Linked DNA regions of Homo sapiens: region 2 is linked to region 1. The links are contacts of gene promoters, found by promoter capture Hi-C in blood cells and fetal thymus (Javierre and others, 2016). All regions are on one chromosome and are shown on one strand. The core of a region is centred on a gene start or on the middle of the fragment in contact, and the rest is flanking DNA. Distances in the headings are between cores, read along the strand shown. Region 1 holds the start of UBA3 (ubiquitin like modifier activating enzyme 3). Region 2 overlaps MITF (melanocyte inducing transcription factor).

Region 1 (6,056 bases), core at 726-3,225:
TGGGGCTTTTATAATGGGACTGGTGTGTCTAGATAGGACCATTCAGACTATCTGTCTGTTTAAAAACCATAGCAGATAGTCTAATTGTTTATGATATGTTCCATTTGAAGTAAAATAAATCTGTTGAAGGTTTTGCTTGCATGTCTCTGTTGCTTTCATTCCTGGCAAGGGCAGATGGCTATTTCTAATCCGTCAATCAATCTAAGCCAGTGAGAGTGCCTGGTGTCGTTTATCAAAATACCACCATGGTGAGTCAGGCTGTTAGTCTCAAAGCAAGCAGATGCAGGGCCAGATACCTTTGCAGACTTCTTCATCGGCTAGCTGTACTCTATCCCTAGGCCTCAGTTTCCTCCCCTGTGAAATGGGTGAGACTGGACTAGGTGGCCTTTAAGGTGACTGCTGCTTTTCACTATCTGAGAGGGTTGCAATGCTCACTACCACTAATCAAAGGGTATCCAGTATTGTTGGGGGTTCAGGCTACAGGAGCCCATTTTGATAAGCACTGAGGTTAAATCCTCAGTGAAACCATCTGTGGAGTTGTCTGGGCAAGAAAAAGTAGTTTCATAGTTGACGCTGAGACATGTGATGCAGAAGGAGGCTGGTATCTCTTGATAGGGACTGTGAACTCTATTCCCACGCTCACTGCCTGGCATTGACTTTCAGCTCAGTGAATGCTATTGAACTGAACCTAATTGGGGGACCATAAAGGACAAGCTTTCCTTAAGGTTCACTGAAAACTAGGACAAGAGGAGGTTAAATATCACAGTGTAGTAACAGCAGCTACATTTACTGAGTACCCATCAGGCTTTATGTACTCCATTTCAGTGGCCCTCAAACTTTACCAGTGGAGAATCACCCCAGGCTTTGCAGAAGGCTGAAGGGTGGGGTGGCGGGGGGGCGGTGGGGAGCGTGGTGGGGGCGGTGAGGGGTGAAAATTTGTGTTAAAAAAAACTTCCCAAGTGATGTTGATCAGGAACTGTATTTTGAGAGCCACTCTGGATTTTACTTAATTATCAGTCTTACAAGGTGAATAGTGTTATGCCCACTTTATAAATGAAGAAATAGAAGTGTCTAAGGGTTTCGTAGCTCACAACTGAGAAGAATTTAAAATCAGTTACTTTTGATTCCAAATATCATTCTTGTCCCACTCCATAGAAGGAGATGTGTGTGTACGTGTATATACATACATTTTTGAACATGATCATTTCCCTCTATCCAGCCATCCAGATTCACAGTGTATATTTGTATTTCTGACTCTAGAAGAAAATAATTGAAACTTTTATCACAATTTATCTTTAGGTGATAGGATTATGGGTGTTCTCAGTTATTCTTTGATTTTTGTGATTGTTTTCCTTTATACTTTTTTCTTTGTATCTAAATATACACATTTATCTCAGGAAAAGTTTTAATCATTTTGTTTCCGCTGAACTTATCTAACAGAATGTGACATGAAAATATTAATGCTGATTTGTTCAAAGAAAATAATAATCTCCCACCCCACCAATGTAAACGGATTTAGATAAATTTATTATTCAAGTGAGTACTTATAAAGGCAAAGACTTTGGAACCATCCTGAAAAGCAGAAAGTGAAAATTTCCTTGATCTTTGCCCCCAGAGGAAAGCTCTGGCATACTGGGAGGGTTCTTCACGAATTTTTCATAGAATATACCAATATTTTGTATAATTACGTATTAACATATAGTTTGTGTAAACGCATAATGTATTGTCTACATTTTCACGCTGCAGAGCAACATTATGCACGGTATAAGATTCACCTAATTAAGCGTAGGTAATTAAGATTATAATTACAGGGCAAGACTTTAAAGCCCATGGGAGCCCAGCCGCAGTCAACCTCGCACCTCCCTGCCGGTTGTGTTTCTGGCCTCGCCCCTCCCCGCTTCGCCAGCCCCGCCCCTCCCCGCTTTGCCAGTCCCGCTCCTCCCCGCCCTGCCGCGCGTGGGCACCTGGGAAGAGGCGGAGAACAATATGGCGGATGGCGAGGAGCCGTAAGTACCGGGGCTCTGCAGACGCGCCGGGCTGGGCTGGGTTGTGAGAGAGCGCGGCGGTGGGCGGTTGCCGCCGCCACCCGGGGTCCCCACACCCCCCGCCCCGTCCCCTCGCCCCCCTCCCCTCGCGGCGCCCAGTGTGTAGCGCGATGCTGACCCTTCTTTTATTCTCTCTTTTAGGGAGAAGAAAAGAAGGAGAATAGAGGAGCTGCTGGCTGAGAAGTTAGTGCTGCCGGGAGGCCGGGGCCCTCTCCGGGGACCCCCGCCTCCCCCCACCCCAGGCCTAGGGGACCAGCCGCAGCGGGCCCGGGGGGCTGGGAGGGGGACACCCGGAGCGCAGGCCGCGCTGCCTCATCCCCTGATCCCCGCCCCGCAGCCCCGGGGGCCTGGCGGGCCGCTCCCGGTATCTGCCCGGTGCGGGCGTCGGGGCCAGGCTGTACTGCCCCAGCTCCTGCAGGGGCCCTCCGGGGTGCTTGACGTAAAGGTCTTGAGGAAGGACCCTTGTGCACTCCTCTTCCTCCATCCCAAATTGTCAGAGCAGTGACCCTGTGAAAAGGCAATCTACCTTAAACACACAGGAAAAGGACACAAGACCGTTTTGTGGCCTTTTGCAAACACTGAGACAGTAGTACTAATTGCAAACTTTTAATGATAACTCTACATGTCAGGTATTGTACTAAGCACTCCAGTCATTTTGGCAGAATAATTGGCTCTTAAAAGATCTGGAAAGAGGTTGTTGACTTCAAACAGCCTATTTATCCCTTTTACTACACACCCTATTTCTTATCAGATGCTTAATTCTATGCTGGTGAGACAGATTTAATCGAAGTGTTTTCTAACCTGGCCAGCGCCACATAATTTACTCCCCTCCCTGCCTGGGCAGGGAAAAAATACTCTTGCATTGGTTATGGTGAGTTTGTAAATTTCCGTGCCGATTCCCAGTAGCAGTGCTTTGATCTTTATGTGTGTCCCTCAGTTGAATTTCAGCTGCAAGAGGACCGGGATGACAAACTTAATTTCACATTCTTTCCTGCCTTTTATTTCCCTCCCACTTTTACATGAAATCACAATTAAACATTGCTTACCATATCCCACGTACTGTACTGAGTCTTCTGTGTGATTATCTATATCCTCATGGCTGAAAGAAGTAGCTATGAACGGCCTGCAGATGAGGTTTATGTCTATTAAGTAATCTGCTCAAGGTCACAGTGCTGTTAATTGTGGAACCCAACACAACTCTGACATCAAAACGTATGGTTTTTATTGCTAGGCAATACTTCTTGGTCCCTTTTGTAAAAATTGGATATTACTAATATATTTGACGGTAGAAACTGTGGAGTTATAGGAAATTAGAAAATTAAAAATAATCACAACCAAACGTGAATCTTAACTAAGTATAAAATAGATGAATTTTGTAGAGGAGTCCCACCTTATTCTGTTGTATGTTCTAAAAGGTTTGTAGATGTCTATCTGTGGCGTAATTGTAATCTGAAACTTTGTGTTTAGTGGCAAGAAAAGCCGTCCCACAGCATTAAGAGATTCTTTAAAAAATTAAGACCTCTGCCAGGTTCGGTGGCTCATGCCTGTAATCCCAGCACTTTGGGAGGCCGAGGTGGACGGATTACTTGAGCTCAGGAGTTTCAGACCAGCCTGTGCAACATGGCGAAACCCGTCTCTACTAAAAATACAAAAATTGGCTGGGTATGGTGGCATGTACCTGTAGGCACAGCTACTTGGGAGGCTGAGGCAGGAGAATCACTTGAGCCCAGGAGGGCAAGGCTGCAGTGAGCTGCAGTCACACCACTGCACTCCAGCCTGGGCAACACAGTGAGACTCTGTCACAAAAAAAGAAAAAGAAAAAGAAAAAATAACCTTATTTCTGAGAAAAGTGTGTGAAAATTCCTCTCATCAAAGTGATTTTTAGATTACACCTTTGGAAAGGACACATAAATATTAAATTTGCATCAGACATATAAGCATCAGAATTCTGAAAGTGTGACTTTTTTTCTCTGTTGTATCTCATATTTCCTAATGCAAGTGTGATGAAACAACAGATTGAGGAAGCTTGCAGTGTTTTTTTTGTAAATACCAAATGTAGAGAAGTCAATTTCTCACATAATAGACCAATATCCTAAGTTGAACCTTGGATTGCTTTAGGAAACCAAAAACATGTAGACTGATTTATTTCATCCATTGGGTGAAATAAAAATAGAAACGTGCAGTTCTTAACTTTAAATGAATTGTATAATAGGCAAGAAAAAATTTCAAAGCATAAACATAATCACATTGAATATTTTCCTTTTTATTTGAGCAGGTCTGGTGTGGTTACCTTTTCATTTGGGGATACCATAATAGTTGTAGGTGTGGTTTTTTTCATACTGATCTTTGCAGCTGAATTTACTGTGTTCTGTGCAGAATGGCTGTTGATGGTGGGTGTGGGGACACTGGAGACTGGGAAGGTCGCTGGAACCATGTAAAGAAGTTCCTCGAGCGATCTGGACCCTTCACACACCCTGATTTCGAACCGAGCACTGAAGTGAGAAACGTTTATTTTTAAATAACTGCTCTAATAGTTTTATGTTTCAAAACTAATAGAATGCTTCTTTTTTAATTTGCTCTTACAATGAAAATACTAATAAAATTGTTTTGTGAAACTAAATTTTTCTTAAAATATGAGATTGAATATTCACAACTGATTTTGTTTGAATATTTGAGTCTTAACATTTCTCATGTAATATAAGTTGAAAATTTTTGTGAGAAAAATCTAACTTCATGACCTCATGTAAAAATTTAAAATGCTTTCTGAAACATACTCCCCTTTTGTAGTGCTACTGTGAGAAATTAATTTTGATAGGAGTATAGGTGTGCTTACTTAAATTTTGAAATTTAGTTGGAATGAACATCTTAGCTTTGAGTATAATTAATTGCATGTTAAGAATTATGTAAGTACTAAATAATAGAGGCGTAGAATTTTGGACTGATAGTGTCTATCTTAAGGCAAGTGTTCACTTATATGTCACTTTTTTTTATTACAGGGTAGGGAAAAGTATAGCACATCTTTATGTGCTTTTGTATTTATAAAAAGATAGTATTTTGAAATAGAAATATTGTGTTACTCCCATAAATTAACGTGCAAACTCTTGGTTTGGCCCAGTGTCTCATGTGAATAACTTTCTCCTTTAATGCTGGGCAGAACTGAAAGCATTAAAAATAAAAAAAAAAAAAAGAAAAAGAATTGAAAGTATTAATTCTGTCTTTCTTTAGATAACACACCATATTTTCTTGTGCTTCTAAATTTTTTTTTTTGCCTGATAATTTAAGATTGTTACTTCTGTTAAATGATTGTATTTCTGCTGATAAGGAATTTTCTAAGAGTTTTATATGTTTTCGTGTTATCTCATGTTTTGTGAGTTTCGCTCACTTTATTCAAAAGGAGATGTTGGCCAGGTAAGGTGGCTCACGCCTGTAATCCCAGCACTTTGGGAGGTCAAGGCGGGAGGATCACTTGAGCCCAAGAGTTCCAGACCACCCTGGGCAACATAGAGAGAACCCATCTCTAAAAAAAAAAAGAAAGAAAAAAAGAAAAGAAAAAAAAATTAGCTGTGCATGATGATACATGTCTTTGGTTTCAGCTACTCAGGAGGTTGAGGTGGGAGGATTGCTTGACTGCACCTGGAGGTGGAGGCTGCAGGGAGCTCTGATCATGCCACTGCACTCCAGCCTGGGTGACACAGTGAGACCCTGTCTCAAAAAGGAAAAAAAAAAGCAGCTGTTACTCTTTCCCCTTCCATCTGCCGCAGATGGAGTTTTGCTTTTGTTGCCCAGGCTGGAATGCAATGGTGTGATCTTGGCTCATGGTAACCTCTGCCTCCCAGGATCAAGTGATTCTCCTGCCTCAGCCTCCCAAGTAGCTGGGATGACAGGCGCCCACCACCACACCTGGCTAATTTTTTATATTTTTAGTAGAGACAGGGTTTCACCATGTTGGTCAGGCTGGTCTTTCCTGACCTCAGGTGATCCACCCACCTCAGCCTCCCAAAGTGCTGGGAT
Region 2 (6,056 bases), core at 1,792-4,291, 690 kb before region 1:
GAGAAGATTAAGATGTCCAAAGGACATTCTTGAATAATAAAAGACGGTCCCTAAACCATCTTCTAATAAGAGTTACTTACCAGACCTTGGTGTGCCAAACATCATGATGCAACTTTGGGGCAGAGCCAAATTGCTCAGGGCTGTAGAAGAAAGCCTGCCAGGCCTCTGGCACCTCCTAGCATGTGTGGCACTAGGTCTAACTGGTTGTTGAAAATATTAAACATTTTTAAAGGATATTGGTATGAAGACATACCTGAATATTAGTCTGCCTGTGCTCCCATGGGCCTGCACCTAGTCATGGCTTCTGGCCCTCTTTTCTGCCATTAACACCATTTTGTAGGGTACTGTCTTAACCAGGACTGTCTCCTCCATTAACAACACTTTATGAGTTACTGTCTTATCCAGGAATCTCTCCTCCTACTCAATTCCTTAAGACGCTGTGTCTTATTTATCACTGTATCCCAACTGATAGCTCAGTGCAATACTCTACAAATCAATTCTATTTTCTATAACAAAAAATAGTATTAAGGCTAGTGATAAAGCTTATAATCTGTGTTTACCCTTACCATTTAGCCTTCAAGCAACCTTTAACATCAATATATAGAAGTATTAATGCTTCATAGTTTTCAATTTGAGATGTTTATGGAAAATTTTTTAAGTAAATAAAGCACAGAAAGATAATTTACAAATCTGTGGTCCAGCTATGCATACTCAAGGAGAAATGTAATCAGCCATACACATGAAATACTCACAGGAAGGCAACTAATCCAGGGTAACAGTATCAAAACCTGGAAGGTCATGAAAAACTATCCAACCCACAAGCATTGTTTTATAAGAAGGAATAAAATTGAAGCTAAGGATGCTGAATTTATTTGCCCCTACCTAGTGACAAAACCGTGGTTTACATGATCTCCAAATTCACAGACCCCTGTTTTCCCCCACCACACTGGGCTGCTACCTGAATTAATCAGATCATGCTACTCCTTTAGCTAGAAATCTGCAACGGCTCCCAATTTTTAATGAGTAAAAGGCAAAGTCTTTGCAAACCCTTACAGTGTCTGCCTCTGCCCCAATCCCATTCCTTCACTGACCCCACCTCCTGCCATTCCTGGAACTCCCCACTTTGCTCAGCCTGGTCCAGCCGCTGTGGCCATGATGCTGTTACTGAAGTAGACTCACTCCTGTCCAGATACTATGTACTTACTCTTCCTTCTGTCTGCTGTGCTTTGCCCCCAAATACTGGCATGACTCCCTCATCTTCTTTGGGTCTTTTCTCAAATGTCATTTTCTCAGTGAGGCAGTCCTTGTCCACTCAGTTTTAAATTACAAGTCACCCCAAACCCAGCCATGCTTTATCGTTCTCTATAACACTTACCAGCATTTAGCATATTATGCATTTTACTCATTCACATATTTATTTCTACATCTGCTTGCCCATGTAAGTTCCATGAATACAAAGATTTTCAACAGTTTGGTGCCCTGCTGTATTCCTCATACCTAGACAACTTCCTGAAACATAGTAAAACCTCAATAAATATTAGCTCAATAAGTGGGTGTATGGATTGATGGATAGAGTTCAAGAGTGGCCCAAATCCAGAGAATTCAAGAGCTGTGAAACGTTTGCTAGCATCTGGCAGCCCATAGGAAGCAGCTGGTGGCATGGGTGTCATCTACTATCACTATGTACCCACTTTTAACTGACACTCACTGATACTCCGCATGGAAGTCAGTAAACTAAGGAATGAAGTGACATAAAGACTTGTCAAAGCAATCCCTTTTAAGGCTGCATGACTCTCTGGGTTAAAGAGTGAACTAGCAAGTAAATAATTTTTATCAGAAACAAGATGCTGTCACATGCACAGAAGTGGAAATCACTTCTAAATTGCTTCCCTGTGCCCCTCAGCTTAAGACAGAAAAGGATGGTTTGCTTAGATTGGACATCCCAAAAAAGAGACTAGACTCCAAAAACTTTCTGGCATGAACCAACATTTGCCATTAGGCCTGAATGGCTGGCACAGCTGAGCCTCCATGCACCATTCTAAATATAAAACATGAAGCTTCAATTATAACTTAATGACAGATATATAAAGGAAGATATTAAGAGTGCCCAAAAATAAGGCAGTAGGAACCAAGGGTAGATATTAAAACTACATAATATTTGGCCTGGCCATCAAGGAAAAAAAATTAATAACATTCAACCAGACCCAAACTAACATAAGCAGTTTATGCTCTTTCATGTTTAAGAACCCAATAAAGGTTTGCATCCAGGCTACTCTTACCCCACCAGTACCTGAAATAGCAAAATCATCCACAAAGAACAACTTGTCCAAACTTAAAAGACATACATCAATCCTAATTGATGAAAATTAAAAACCAACGATCTCCAAATGCATCACCAATTTCCAGTCTAATTTAGAGCTTTATAGCCCAACACACACATAAATGGAAAAGTAGAAAAGTTTTCCATTCCCAATCTTAGCAATCCCTCTCATGCATCAAGCATGCATCGCGATGGCAGGCTACCCAGTCCAATTCTCTACACACATCTGTTAATCAACATGAACCCCATGTCACATTTTAATTCATTTGCTAGAGAATTTGGGATGATTCAAGTTCTGAATGCTGGTGCCATTTTTAAATGGCATTAATTTCACATGGAAGTATTTCAAAAAAACAAAAAAGGAAAACTACTAGAACTGTTGAAAAATATTTTAGCATTTACTGCAATGGTAACACTTACTTTCCAGTATTCTCAATTTCCTTAGCTAAATTTAAGAGGGCTATAGGTATTCTCTTAAATCTATGATGGCTGAAGCAGCTATGTGTGTGTTGCATCCTATCTGTAGAATCCTCCCCGTTCACTAATGACACACTGCTGGAGAATCACTTGGGACCATTCAAAACCATTAAGGCTATTAACTCTGACTTGGGCCAAGTTTAATAAACAAGTGTCATCCAACAGGAAATGAGTTAAGCTGGCTTGTAAAGTCATTTAAGCAAATACTCAAAGTCAGAGCGCCTGACAAGATGCTTCTCATGGAATTCTTTTGCTGTTGATTTTGCCCAATTTAAATCAGAGCTCACTGGAAGTGTTCATTTCAGGAAAAAAAAAAAAACCCATGTTTAAACGGAGTAACTTTCAGTTGGTTTAAGTGACCACCTAAAAGAATTCCTAAATGTTGCCCAAGTCTCTCTGGCTGTCTCATACATAGCAACAGCAGGTGCACAATAAATACTTAGGAAACCAACATGGAATGAATCCAGGTCCACCTACATAAAATCAAGTTTCTGATCTGGAAATTCTAGATCATAAACAGTCACACATGAGAGAAGCGGTTGCTGTCAGTTACGGTGGTGCTGTATATATTTTTGTCATGTCTAAGTAACACGTGCATTTCAAAATGTGGCCACCTTCGGATACTTGTTAATGCTAAGCCCACACCTAGAACATTTCATTTCCCAAATGAAATCATTCTTATCTTTGAATAGTTCTCTCACATATTACCTTCAAAGAAACCTGTCCTAATAAAAGCCATTCCTACTCTACTTGGCCTCCAGATTTAACCACTTCCTACATTCAACCATCCTGGGACCTAGCTTTACTAGACTTCAATTTTGACCTTATTTATCTTGCCTTTTGTCATAATTGCTTCTTGCTTTCGTGCTCCATTAAACACTAAGGTTTTTGAGAGCAGGAACTCAAAACACTTTAAATTCCTCTCTCTTCATATGCAGTTGCTTTTGCACAGTCAATACACAGTAAATGCTGATTGAATTGAAAGGATCTCACTCTTAGAATGCAATTCTCTCAGAGTCTCCAACTAGTCTAGTAGCTTAAAGACCAATCCTACTTAAAAATTAACTTGAATTGTAAGTACAACAAAATCACTCCAAGTTATTAACCTAACCATTGAAGTGTTTATTTTCCTACTTGGAAAACCAGGTCAACCACAGGGACCAACCTACCCTGGATAGGTGACTCTAAAAGTAATGAGGTAATTTCCTTCAAAAATGACAAAGCTTTCAGGATTCTCTGGAATGCATACCCATTAATGTGTCACCATTAATCATTCCCTTTAGGTAAAAGCAACACTAGAACATTTCAGAATTTTCAAGCAACATCATACTATATACTCAAGTATCAACATAATCTCAATTTGATGGTCCCATGGCTTACACAGGGAGAAGGAATTAGGAGGTAGATTTACCAGAGATACTAAGAAATCTTTTTTCAAATTTATGAAACTATTTCTATACTTATGCCCCAAGGATGTTGTTCACTGCATTTTTATAAGCATACACAAATATCTATCTGAGTGAAAAAATGAATGAGAGGGCAAAGGAGTATGTTTTACTACCAAACTAGCATTGCTAGATTTAGCAAATACAGAATGCCCAGTTGAATTGAATTTCAGATGAATAAAGAATATTTTTTAGTCTCGCTATCCCATGAAATATCTAGAACAAAGTTATAGTAAACAATTATTCTGTATCAGAAATCCAAATTTAACTGGACATTCTGGATTTTATCTGGCAACTCTGCCCCAAATTCAGAAATTGCATTATTGAGTCTCCAGTTTAAAGAAAGAAAAGGCACTGGCACATGCCTGTGGTCCCAGCTATTCAGGAGTCTGAGGCAGGAGGATCAGTTGAGCCCAGGAGTTCCGGGCTGTAGTGCACTTTGCTGATCTGGTGAGTGCAATGAGTTCGGCATCAATATGGTGACCTCCTAGGGGACCACCAAGGTGCATAAAGAAGGGTAAACCAGCCCAGGTTAGAAATGGAACAGGTCAAAACTCCCGTGCTGGTTAGTACTAGGATTGCACCTGTGAATAGCCACTGTACTCCAGCCTGGGCATCACAGCAAGGCCCCGTATCAAAAAGGAAAAAAAAAGAAATCACATAGCAACGACTACACTTTGTGAAGCCCTAACTTTCAGAAAGAACAAAATAAGTAGTCAAAAAATAATAATTTTTAGAAAGCTCAATATAATGATGGCAGGAAAAATAGTTGAGTAAGATATGAGTGCTAACTAGGTGCCAGACTACCAAGATGAAAACCCTATGTGTGCATAATCTCATTTAATTCTTGCCACATCCTTATGAGGTAGGGACCATAATTATTATTATCATCATCATTATTGTTATTATTACTGTTATTATTATTTTACAGATAAGAAATCCAAGATATAAAGAGAACAAGTTGCTCAATGTCATACAGTAGTACAACAAAGACTCAAACCTTGGCAAATTTAACAAAGGACTTACATGCTTACCCACTACTTCATTTTACAGGTGAAGAGAGAATCTTAGTGATTTGCCCAAACTCACACAGCCACCAATCAGTGCAGCTGAGATTCAAACCTAGAACAGTCCTACTCCAGAGTTTTAGTCTCAACAAGCTATTGCCTCTCCAAATCATGCAAAATGGGACACATGCCCTCCCCACCTACATCAGCTGCAATTACCATCCTAATAAATTTGAATGCTTCATCTTTAAAACACAGTGCTTGAACTTACAATGGCTTCCTAGGAATTTGTATCAAACCCATTCAGCTGAATTTTGACTCCACATTATTATAAATGATTCTGGGTTGGATAGGGAATGTGAGGAAGATTTCTATTAGGGGGAGGAATTTGTTGTTACTGCCATTTCTGTACCAAAACATCACTTTAAAATAAGCCACTTATCTAGTGTCTACCAGTCTTGCTGCCTCAAGGCAAATTCTTGCTTCTGCACATGAATTCCAAACACCGGTAATAACCTGGAACACAGATAGAATGGCTAATCTGAAGCAGCCACCAAAGCCAAATTATGTATGGAAGACTTTTCTTCTTGGATCAGGAACTCAACAGCCCGGATTCTTCCATGTAAAATATCATGTTCAGAAAATATGAGAAGATATCTAGAACTTTTCTTGGAGCAGATTTACTTATGGGAATCCTCATATGCCTTATTCTAGATGCTTGTCAATCTATGGAGTGAAGACAGGTGTCTTTTATTAGGGGAGGAAGGTGTGTATGTGAGCATGTGTCTGTGTGTGTACATGCAAGCA

The links. The method cuts DNA at HindIII sites, captures the fragments that hold promoters and counts their contacts. A CHiCAGO score of 5 or more calls a contact.
Region 2: a fragment that was not itself captured here is called in contact with the fragment with the promoter of UBA3 in region 1 in 1 of 17 cell types (M1 macrophages); the score reaches 5.1 in M1 macrophages.

Annotation. Positions count from the first base shown.
Region 1 is chr3:69,076,284-69,082,339 of GRCh38, reverse strand. UBA3 (ubiquitin like modifier activating enzyme 3) reads left to right here and starts at 1,975. Exons shown (of 18, transcript NM_003968.4): 1 at 1,975-2,006; 2 at 2,187-2,228; 3 at 4,422-4,542. The coding sequence starts at 1,987. RefSeq lists an enhancer at 204-263 and silencers at 1,867-1,936, 2,057-2,146, 2,267-2,496. The HindIII fragment of the contact is 3,356 bases long and covers 717-4,072 here.
Region 2 is chr3:69,768,310-69,774,365 of GRCh38, reverse strand. All of the region lies in intron 1 of MITF (melanocyte inducing transcription factor), which reads right to left. It also overlaps the pseudogene RN7SL418P. Among named protein-coding and RNA genes, the nearest start is that of MITF, 32 kb to the right of the region's middle. RefSeq lists an enhancer at 3,750-4,949. The HindIII fragment of the contact is 1,963 bases long and covers 2,060-4,022 here.